Linked DNA regions of Homo sapiens: all the other regions are linked to region 3. The links are contacts of gene promoters, found by promoter capture Hi-C in blood cells and fetal thymus (Javierre and others, 2016). All regions are on one chromosome and are shown on one strand. Each heading gives the region's core, a stretch centred on a gene start or on the middle of the fragment in contact. The rest is flanking DNA. Distances are from core to core; before and after follow the strand shown. Region 1 holds the start of SUGT1 (SGT1 assembly cochaperone of MIS12 kinetochore complex). Region 2 holds the start of VPS36 (vacuolar protein sorting 36 homolog). Region 3 holds the start of FNDC3A (fibronectin type III domain containing 3A).

What was found. Contacts are between HindIII fragments. The CHiCAGO score rates a contact against its expected background, and 5 or more counts as called.
Region 1: the fragment with the promoter of SUGT1 here is called in contact with the fragment with the promoter of FNDC3A in region 3 in 4 of 17 cell types (total CD4 T cells, naive B cells, total CD8 T cells and 1 more); the score reaches 6.3 in total CD4 T cells.
Region 2: a contact is called between the fragment with the promoter of VPS36 here and the fragment with the promoter of FNDC3A in region 3, in 1 of 17 cell types (fetal thymus). The highest score is 6.5, in fetal thymus.

What each region holds. Positions count from the first base shown.
Region 1 is chr13:52,651,509-52,655,365 of GRCh38, reverse strand. It overlaps SUGT1 (SGT1 assembly cochaperone of MIS12 kinetochore complex), which reads right to left and starts at 2,530. Exons shown (of 13, transcript NM_006704.5): 1 at 2,408-2,530; 2 at 2,263-2,320. The coding sequence starts at 2,445. It overlaps SUGT1-DT (SUGT1 divergent transcript), which reads left to right and starts at 3,059. Exons shown (of 1, transcript NR_170300.1): 1 at 3,059-3,857. RefSeq lists enhancers at 2,050-2,169, 2,279-2,780, 2,890-3,229 and a silencer at 2,530-2,799. The HindIII fragment of the contact is 4,517 bases long and covers 482-3,857 here.
Region 2 is chr13:52,448,773-52,452,326 of GRCh38, reverse strand. It overlaps VPS36 (vacuolar protein sorting 36 homolog), which reads left to right and starts at 1,693. Exons shown (of 14, transcript NM_016075.4): 1 at 1,693-1,828. The coding sequence starts at 1,733. RefSeq lists silencers at 1,447-1,506, 1,547-2,006 and an enhancer at 1,527-2,107. The HindIII fragment of the contact is 2,912 bases long and covers 1-2,312 here.
Region 3 is chr13:48,973,944-48,977,376 of GRCh38, reverse strand. FNDC3A (fibronectin type III domain containing 3A) reads right to left here and starts at 1,465. Exons shown (of 26, transcript NM_001079673.2): 1 at 1,200-1,465. RefSeq lists enhancers at 431-530, 691-1,310, 1,201-1,500, 1,311-1,930, 2,201-2,260 and silencers at 671-1,150, 1,481-1,750. The HindIII fragment of the contact is 6,136 bases long and covers 1-3,433 here.

The DNA of each region.
Region 1 (3,857 bases), core at 1,281-3,780, 3.7 Mb before region 3:
CCTGTGCTGGGATTTAATGCCTTTGATGGCCTGGCCTCACTGTCGCCTGGGCTGGAGTGCAATGGCGCGATCTCAGCTCACTGTAACCTCCACCTCCAGGGTTCAAGTGATTCTCCTGCCTCAGCCTCGCAGGTAGCTGATTACGGCTGCCCACCACCATGCCCGGCTAATTTTTTGTATTTTTAATAGAGACGGGGTTTCACCATGTTGGCCAGGCTGGTCTCGAATTCCTGACCTCGTGATCCGCCTGCCTCGGCCTCCCAGAGTGCTGGGACTATAGGCGTGAGCCACCGCGCCCGGCTGCACTTCTAATGAATTGCCAGGTGATGCTGATAATGCTGGTCCAAGAGCCATACATTAAAAACCAAGGTACTAATACTAGCCACATGACTATCCTAGGCAATTCTTCTCCTAGGTACATACAACCAAAAGAAATGCATGTGTTCACCAAAATACATGTACAAGAGTATTCACAGAAGCTTTTTGTTAGCTAATAACTAGAAATAACCCAGATGTCCACTGTTAGAATAAATTGCGCCGTACTTACGGCTATACAACATATATTTATACAATGGAATATTACACAGCAATGCGAAAGAACTACTACTTCACACAATATGAATGTATACTTATGTAATCATTAAAGCAAAAAGAGTGTCTACATTCAATAAAGCACCTACTGTATGATTCTGTTTATGAGTCAAGAACAAACAAAACTAACTGATGGTGATGGAGGTCAAAGCAGGAGTCAGCAGGACAGTAAGAAGAATTACTGGCTGAGAAGGCGCATTAAGGAGCATTATGAATGGAGATACTCTGTATCTTAATCTGGTGGTGTAAACATGTGAAAACTCATCAAACTATAGACTTAAAATCTGTGTTATTTACATAAATCATATATGCCTCCATAAAAATTTTTAAAGTAAAAGAAGATGGAAAGTGACAATAAAATTCATTATGTTAATACTGTTTAAAAGCAACTTTTATATAAACTGGATTCCCAAAGGAAGCACTAGGTCTAACACGACAATAACAAATGTAAATTAAAAGTCATAGCTGTCTAGCTAATACAAGAAATTATGGAGAAAAATTCTCAGTGCTTCCTGTAACATTATCCCCAAACTCATCCCAGAAGCCTTACTCCCAGTATCTAAAGGTCTATATATTTAGGTGTAAAAAACACACCTGGACCCTAAAAGGCCTTATAGGACCTGGCTCCTAGTTTCCTGTCCAACCTCTCTTAATCAAATGGGCCCTCTAATAAAAAGGGCCTTTTTGTTGCTTCACATACAGGCCAACTTCATTCCTACCTCAAGATCTGCACTGGCTCTTGGTCCTGCCTGGAATATTCTTTCCCCAGAGCTTCCAAGTTAATTCCCTTGTTCCTTCAAATCTCCACTCAAAGATCTCCTCAACGGAGGCTCTAGTACCATGTGGCACATTTCTTATAAAAGTCATAGCTAGAAAAGACGCTGTCTTGCCTCAAATTGTTAAACGTAACAGCAAAACAGGTTTCCTCTTTTCTGTGATTTAACGCAAAAACAAACAAAAACTCCTGGCTAAATTCTGTGACCCGCAGCATCATTTATCTTTAGGTTCTCCTTTAATTCTTATTATTTAACTCTTGATCTTTTACATTCCTTTACAGCTTTATGGTTTGCCTTCATTGCACACCTACAAAAAGTGATTTCTAGGTTAGCTGAGTATATAACCAAGACTTTAACCCACAGCAATCAGCGCCTTTGCACACAGCCACTCCAAAAAAAAATTTTGATGAATATACAAATGAGTGAATAATGAATTGTGATAAGACATCTGGAAAGTTTCAGGGACGTGAGGGAAAAGGGTTTTGCTCCAGTAGACTGACTTCATACCGACACTTTTACGTAAGAATGGCAAGAATTATTGTCAAACGAAAAAATTAACTTCATCGAGCCCAGAGTCCACTTCTCTAATCATAAATGTCATTAAAAAAAAAATCCTTTCAGCCAAACTACAAATGCCAACCATGCTCCCAAGAAATAGAGGAGGTTTTTCTCAGGAGCTGTAGGGAGTGGAAAGGGCAAGACAGGAGTCTGGGGTAACGCGGCTACCGTGTAACAGAGAAAAGAGACGGAGAATCTCAATACCGGAGCTGAGACGCAGCATCAACAAGAGCCTGGGTCCCTGTCCGGCGGTGCGGGGAGAAGGCGGGTCAGCGGGGACCCGAAGTGGCCCAGCTCCCCTAAGAAGAGTGGAGGAAGCAGAAATGGGCTCTCTCACCTCTAACGCCGCCTGGGGGTCCTCGTCGATTAGGGCATCCGAGAAGCTCTGGAAAAACCTGTCAGGAAAACAACGACTTCAGCAGGGCTCACTAGCCAAGGAAAGGGGGATAAAATAAATACCAAAGGGAAAGAAAAACATGCACCTCTGGGATGTTGCAGTTCCTGCTGCAGCCGCCGCCATCCCTCGTAGTCGCTGTTGCTGCCGCCGGAGCTGCTACTATCACGGTTACCACCTCCACCACCGCCCAAGGGGGAAACTTCTGGAGAAACACCAACCGAGCTTCCGTCCTAAATAGCCAGCGAGCAGCCACGCAGCGTGCTGCTAGGGGGACGGGAGGCGACACGCCGGCGCGGGGCCGGCTGGGACAGTGGAGGACCGATTCCTCCCAGCCGCACCCCGGCCCAGGACCCGCGCTCCCAGTCCCCGCCCCTCGCAGCCATGGTTACGGAGGCCTGGGGCGTACACGTTCTTCCTCCCTTCCACCGCGCCCACGCCAGCGGGCACTCCCACGGAGCTTTCAGTAGTACTTTAGAAGCACTTTTGTAACGTACTGTCATCCCTAAGGAACGTGTGGCGGTTAGGGGCGTTTGTATGTCTGTTAATAACGGAAGCTACTTCGAGCTCCCATTTTCCCTAGTTTTTATCATGGCTGCCACAGCTAGCCAAGCCCTTTCGCCTCCATTACGTCTTTAGCGGCTGCGTGGTCTCTTCCGGGAGCAGAGGCCCGGATGACGCGTGGATCCCCGCGATCTTTGGGCTGGGGATTCTAAACGACTGGGACTTGCCGGAAGTCATTCTGCACTAATAGCGGCAAAAAGCCTTCTGGTTCCTGGGGCGACGCGCCCGGCGGCCGTACTATTCACTTCCCCAGAACGCCACAGCCCAGGCTTTCTTCTTAGTGGGCTTCCCAGACCAAGAAGGGAAACCTTTCATCCGAAGGTACTGAGGGGAGGAAGGTGGCCTGAAGTTATCTCAGTGCCGCTTTGTTTCCCACCCCAGTCGGTCAGCCCTTCCTCAGCGCCCTTTAACCCTTGCAGATCGGATGGAGAAAGCTGCCAGCACGTTCTAGGGATGGGGGCAGATTGAGGAGCGGGAGGGAGTAGTCTTTGTCTAACTTTATACCAGTACCAAACTATGTTAATTTAATGTAGTTTTATAATAAATCTTTAAGTCCTGTAACTTATTCTCCCAAGATTGTTTTGGCTTATTCTACGGCCTTTGTATTTCTAGGTGAATTTTGGAATTAGCTTGTTAAAAAGGGGGGGGATTTTTTATTGGGCTCGCATTGAATCTATAGATCTGTTTGGGAAAACTAGTATCTTAACAACAAGTCCTTCAATCCATGAATATCATTCTTCCCCCACCATTTATTTAAGCGGTCTTTAATTTCTCCTGGCAATATTTTGTAGATTGCACATATATCTATATTTTAATGCAGCTGTGCTTGGATAGATTGCAGTATAGAGATCATATATATCTTTCATTAGATTTATTCTTGAGTATTTAGTGTTTTGTATACAATGTTAAATGGCATTTTGACTTTTTTATATTCTACTCGTAAGAATAAACAATATTGATTTTAACATACTGAC
Region 2 (3,554 bases), core at 444-2,943, 3.5 Mb before region 3:
CACTGTTTAGAAATAGACCAAAATACACACAGGATTTTGGAACACGGTAAAAGTAGCAATTCATTTCGGGGGAGAGATGGCTTATACTCATTGGAAAGAGCCTTTCCTTTCTTTTAATGCCTAGCCACAGACCACTGACTCCACGACTGGGGGAAATGTGGAGCCCTGGGGGCAGAGAGCAAGCCTGCCCTCTGTCCCTCTGCCCCTGTGCCCCTCTGCCCACGTGGGCACGCAGCCTTAGTTAAGACCCCAATAAGTGGTAGGCTCTCTAAAATGTGTTCACAACCTTTAAAGCAGTCATTCTATTTTAGGAAGACACTGTAAGAAAATAATCCTAAAGAGAAAAATATGTATCAATTGTAGAAGGACATCTATAAGCTGCTCCATTTATTTATTTATTTATTATTTATTATTATTATTTTTGAAGCAGAGTCTCGTTCTGTCGCTCAGACTGGAGTGCAATGGTGCGATCTCGGCTCACTGCAACCTCTACCTCCAGGGTTCAAGCGATTCTCTTGCCTCAGCTTCCCGAGTAGCTGGGATTACAGGCACCCGCCACCACGCCGGGCTAATTTTTTGTATTTTTAGTAGAGACAGGGTTTCTCTATGTTAGCCAGGCTGGTCTCGAACTCCTGACTTGTGATCCGCCCGCCTTGTCCTCCCAAAGTGCTGGGATTACAAACGTGAGCCACCGCGCCCGGCCAGGTGTTCCATTTATAAAGCAAAATACAAAAATGAAATGGCTAGGGGCACGAGGCCGCCTGGTGGGTGAGAGCAGCGGCCATGGATGGCTTTGCGCAGACCAACAAACAGCTAAATTATAGAGGAACTACATATTGAAATGTAAATTCACGCATGAGGTCTGTATTAATATTGAAAATGCCTAAATAAAAATAATCTTTTTTTTCTGAGCCTGGGGGTGGGGGAGTGGAGTGGCGTGGGGGAGTTGGGGTGGAGGGGGAAAGGGTCTTTCTATGTCGCCCACTGGTGTCAAACTCCTGGGTTCAAGCAATCCTCCCGCCTCAGCTTCGGAAGCAGCTGGGAATACAGGCGCGCGCATCAAGCCCGGTTAAATAAAATCTGTTTCCCCCAGTTAAAAAAAAATTAATTTGTGTGGGTACATAGGTGTATATATTTCTGGGGTATATGGGATATTTTGATACAGGCATACACTGTATAATAATCACATCAGGGTAAATGAGGTATCCGTTACCTCAAGCATTTATCCTTTGTGTTACAATATAATCTTAAAGGGAAAAAAAGAGCAGCACAGGTAGTACTGACTGCAGCTGTACAGAAACAATGCGTGCCATAAATATTCATTTGAAAGAGAGGGGTTATGATTATTTACAATCATTAGCGAATGTAGCAACATTCTGGGCACTGACAAGAAAACTGCCACAAACATGCAGGCATAATGCACAATAAGCAAGTCCAAGCTGTGGTCGGGGCTCCCTCGCGTCCCTGTAAGCTCTGAATTTAGAATGGGGTGGACCGCCTGCTGATCAAGGGTTCTGAAAGGCCGGCGGCTAATGGACCGCCAGGGGGCGCTCCACGCACGTCTCCACGTCCCCGGGCGCACCTCGCAGCCGCGCCCGCTCGCTGCCAGGCCGCTCCCTCCGTCCCTCACCCGCCCCGACTCGCTTCCGTCCCGTCCGACGCTAGGGGGCGCCGCAGGCTGCCTGGCGCGCTGCTCGCGGCCTCGGAGGGCCGGGGCTGGGTGGCAGCGGCCATGGACCGCTTCGTTTGGACCAGCGGCCTCCTGGAGATCAACGAGACCCTGGTGATCCAGCAGCGCGGGGTGCGAATCTACGATGGCGAGGAGAAGGTAGGGCGTCTGCCAACCTTCCCAACGGGCTGGCGGAAGGGACCCCCGGTGGGCGCGCGGCCCGGCTCAGCGCGGCCCGGGTCGGCGCGGCCCGGTCCCCGGCTTAGCTCACGGCCCTCGGCGGCCCGGCAGGCCTCTGTGCGGGGTGCAGCGCTCTTGCGCTCCCCGCCGGTCGGTAGCACGTGGCGTGGGGCGCTCGGCTGCCTCCCCAGCGCGGGTCCCAACTTTGGCACGGTTCCCAGCAGGCGCGGATCGCGGCCGCTTCCCTCCGCCCGGAATGCTTCCGGGAGCGCACAGCTGCAGTGCCCGGGAGAAGGAGCGCTCGCCGTCTGCGGGCGCCGGGCGGCGATCCGGCAGTCGACTTCCTTGGCGTGGTTCCAGACCCCCTGACGACACCAACCTCGGCGTCGGCACCGGACAGCCCCGTTTCGCCTTTCTGTGAGGAGGGCGCGGTGGCCGTACAGTCCGTGCCCCAGCGGAAGCTTTAGCTTGGACCTTATGCAGTCGGAGGGATTAGCATATCTGGGCAGAGGGGTGAGGGATTGCTTCGAAAGGATTTCCTAAAGAGGTATCAGTGCTTCATTGGAATGCCCTTGCCAAAGGCTATTGGGTTTTTGTTTTGTTTTCTAATTGCTTTAGAAAGGCGTTCTGAGCGTGTTTTGTAAAGTGTTATATTAATAGTAGACCGTGCCTTGTAGTGCAAGCATAAATCTTAGAAGGTGCGTTTGCAAATCGAGAGGAGAAATAGGAAGTGTAAGTAAATATTTTGTAGATACTTTACTGAAACTATGAAATATCTTGTCCTGGATTGAAATGGATAAACTGGAATTAGAAAAATTTTAAAACTCATTTACCCACAAGCATTTTTGGTTTCCAGAAGTTTTAATTTGCTACCTCTCTTCCCTTGCCGTTTTATTAACGACACTTTCCGCTGTACTTTGATATAAGTTCCTCAACTCAGCTTTTCCTGGTAAGTGCTTACAGCTATTTAGAGGCACAGGTGACATTGGACCCAGGTCCTCTGACTCTCTTAGGGCATTTTCTATGGGCTGTGTTGCCTGTATTAGTGAGTAAAGGTCTTTTCCTTAAATAATTTGCTTGGACCTAACTTCACTTACTGCCTTAGCACTTCTTAATTTAATTAATTAATTTATTTATTTTGAGACAGAGTCTCGCTCTATCGCCAGGCTGGAGTGCAGTGGCGCGATCTGGGCTCACTGCAACCTCCGCCTCCCAGATTCAAGATCCTGCCTCAGCCTCCTGAGTAACTGGGATTACAGGCGCCTGCAACCATGCCCGGCTAATTTTTGCATATTTAGTAGAGACGGGGTTTCACCACATTGGCCAGGCTGGTCTCTAACTCCTGACCTCAAATGATCCGCCCGCCTGGGCCTCCCAAACAGCTGGGATTACAGGCTCTTGAGCCACTGTGCCCAGCCTGCCTTGGCACTTTAACTATCTTGATCTCAAGATGAGTCTTCCATCCCCGGATTGGAGTGACAAGCTATTTTTTTCTCCTTTCTTACCAATTTACATCTTTGTGACTATTTAAAATGGGAAGGTTAATCCACCTCCCCTTCCTCGGTGTTTTGATTTTGCCTCCCCTTTGAGAGGAACCGAATGTTGACAGTGTTAGATCTGTCCTCAGAGACTCCTCCAGTGCCACTCCCTGAGGGAGCACTAGGAAGTCATGCTTTTGCAGAGCATGGCATGATACTGTTCTATG
Region 3 (3,433 bases), core at 216-2,715:
GCTGGTAACAGCATGGTGATAAAATATTATAGTAAGAGTTCAACTGTTATTTCATTCCTACAATACAGAAGCATACACACTTTGGTTTCAAGAACTAAAAAACACAGACCACAGTAAGAAGCAAAATAATTACGTTGTTCGGTTTTAAAAACCCATAGTGAACACATAATGATTATACCGCAAAAAGAAAAAAAAAATCTCATCAGCCTGCGACTCTTATTTAATAGATGGTCAGACACAAAGGTGTCCAAAGGAACTTACGTAAAATCTCACAAAAGAAAATCTCGAATTCACAATCTCTAGCACCCCCAGCAAATCATCGCATTCCACCCTCTAAAATATCCCAAGGCTTGTAACGCTAACAGTTGAATAAAAGAACAATTAACGACCACATCCATTAAAACAGTCCCTCTTCTGCTCGCAATCTGACAGCGAAATTATCTGTTCATTTTCCTTTACCTAACACATGACGTCGTTTCCAAAGCCGTGTCAAAAGTTCGAAGATCCAGGTTGTTAAAACCGGGCGAGGACTGCAGCCTCGAGTCCACCTCCCGACTGAACAGGTGGTTAACTCGCCCGGGGAGAGGAACTGCCAGGTACTGGAAGCAGCCACGCAGGATCAAACAGAGGGCGGGTTTTCGAGGTTTTAACCCCAAGATGAGCGGGGAAAACTCTCTTCAGAAAAGCGTTCAAGTTCGGCGGCTGCCGGGCGGCCAAAGCCGAAGGCGCCGCGGGTGCTGGGCGATCCTCTCAGGAGGATTCCGCCCCAGCCCCCGCCCCCGCCCCCGCCCCCGAGCCCTCCGGAGCTACGCGGCTCGCCGCGGGGAGGAGGCGGGGGACAGAGAGAAGGGCCGCCCGCGCACCAGCGCCACCTCCCTCGGGCTAGATGCCGCCTCCTCTTGGGCTGGATGGCGCCCCCGGCCGCGCCCCCGCAAGCGTGTCCTGGCTAGGCTCGGCCCCGGCAGGTGCCCGACTAGTAGACCGGTCCTGTCCCCGGCCCCACTGCCCCTCTGCACCTCTGCCCACAGCGCGCCCACAGAAGGGGGTGGTCCGCGCCCCTCGACGGGGCCGAGCCCTGGAGAGTGCCCCGGCCCTCAGTCCCAGCCTAACGGTTTCCGCGGCGCCTCCTCCGGGGCGGGACGGGGTTGGGACGGCTCGGTGTCCCCCGCCTTTCGCGGAGGGAGTGCCCGCGCTCTCACCTCCGAGTCACGCCGTTCTGAGGCAGAAGGCGGCTCCTCTGGCGCCTCTTCTTAGGGTTCCTGATCGTTGTCTCTCTACCTCAGCTGCAGAGTCAGCTCTCAGGGCCGCCGCGGCCGCCGGCGCGCTGACTGTTGGGGTTGTTTCCTGGCAGTGACGCCGCCGCCTCAGCCCCGCTCTTCGCTCCCTCTCCGCGTAGCTCCCGCTTTCTGTTTCACCCGAGGGACCACGAACGCCGCCGCCGCCATGCTTACTACGGAGCCGGGAGGAGGAGCCCGAAGTCGGCGCGCCGAGTGCGGCTGCGCGGGCCCCGCCGACGGAGCCCGCGGCCGGGACCCCGAACCCCCGCCTCGAGCCCGCCGCGCCGGGGCTCTCTCACCGGAACGCGAGTCCCCGCGGGGCCACCGGCGCGTGGCGGCTGAGCGGCCGCGTTTGGCTCCCGGAGCGCCCACACCCTCTCGGGCTTCCGGCTTTCTCCCGAGGCCCGGCTGCGCCTGGCTTGTGGTAGCATCCGCTGTGGCCAGGCTCGGAGCTACACTCAGGAAAAGTGGAGTTAATGGAGGTTCCTAGAGACACTCACACAATTCTCAATCCACATTTCAAAAGGCTCCCCTGAGACGCACCCTGTCGGCCCCTTTCCGAAAGCACGCGAACTTAAGGCTGGCAGGTGCTTTAAAAGACACTCCTCCCAAGGACTAGGAAGCCTCTGAAATGGGCTTGGAAGTTTCTAATCCCAAAGACTTCGAACCCAGGATCTGGATAGCAAGCAAAAATATTTAGATATTTACTCAGTTGAAAACGTGGGGGGTGGCTTCGTGGTCTCTTCGCCAGCCAAATCGCGTGGAAAACCACGACCTCAATTTTTACAACAGCACGAAGACTTACAAGTGAGCGTAGCAGCGACTTCCTGGAACCTCAAACAATGTGGGACGCTGCAATAATGCCTGAGGGCTTTTGACTTACAGTTGCCGCCGGAGACCTGGGGAGGGGGTAGTACTTGGGCCGGTGAGTCCAGCCTCAGGAACTGTCCTTTCAAAAATGGTGATGGATGTAACAAGTTGCATGTCTGGGCTTTATTTCAGTGTATTAATTGTGCGATCTTTTAAAATAGCTGTATTTTTAAAACTGTTTTACAGAAATCTCTTTAAAATGTGATTATTCTCTATATTCTTAAAGAATACAATGGCTAATTAAATCCTTTGTTGATAACTGACTCTCAAACCGATATCTTGGCCATACGTTTAAGTCCCAGAGGATTGCTGCGGTGTATAGAATCCCTACTTTGGTGCTCTCTTTTTTTCCCTCTTTGGAATGTTCTCATCACCTCTTCTAAAATCCTTCACTGCTTTTCATCTCCTCATCTGCCTCTATCCACTCTGATCCTTCCTCTTATTCTTTCTGCTTTACTGTTTATTTTTCATTCTTCTCTCCTTTCTCGGCTGGTTTTCTCTGCGGCTCCAGGTGAAGATTGATGGGATGTTTATGTCCACAGCCAGCTAATGAGAGGTTTCTTTTCTTCTGGTTGTAAATAGGGCAGTGGTATCTTGAGATATTTTCATTGCTCTTCACTATCAGAAGTTCTTTCCCTGTGAGAGATGTTTCCTTTTCTTAACTTTTGGATTTGGCCCTCTTCGAGACAGCTGGCAAGTTGATCTTGGAATAATTGAAGTATAACTGTATATTGTTTCAAAGTATGAGGATTTTATCAGAGTGTGGGCGAATGGGGTGGCTTCCCCATCTTACTGCCCAACTATGCTTGGTCTGAGACTAAGATAGTGGTTTCCAAACTTACCGCTAAGCTAATACTTTCCTACTCTGCTTCCTACTCAGGAGCTTTTTGAAAATACAGAATCCTGCAATCTACCCCCTCAAGATTCTGATTCCTTTGTCCAGGGAGAGGCCAAGACATGGCACTTTTAAAAACTATATTTAAAAAAATATGTTTGGGACATGCCTACATGTAAAGGCAGAGTAAAGAAGATCAGCTGTTTTTGAAGGAGATTAACACATAATTTAAGAATGTTATTGAAGACCTAGAGATTGTAGTCAATAATATGCAATGCAGTAAGGTGAAGTAAAGTGAAGACCAAGGAATTTATGGCCTTTGGAGAGAAGAAAACCCACACATAAATGACCCTAGCATGTGCACCAGTATGAGTTCTCTGGGAACAGAGAGAGGGTCAAGAAATTATGTTGGCTTTGAACAAGTTCTCTTCTCAATGCTTCACTTTTTTTT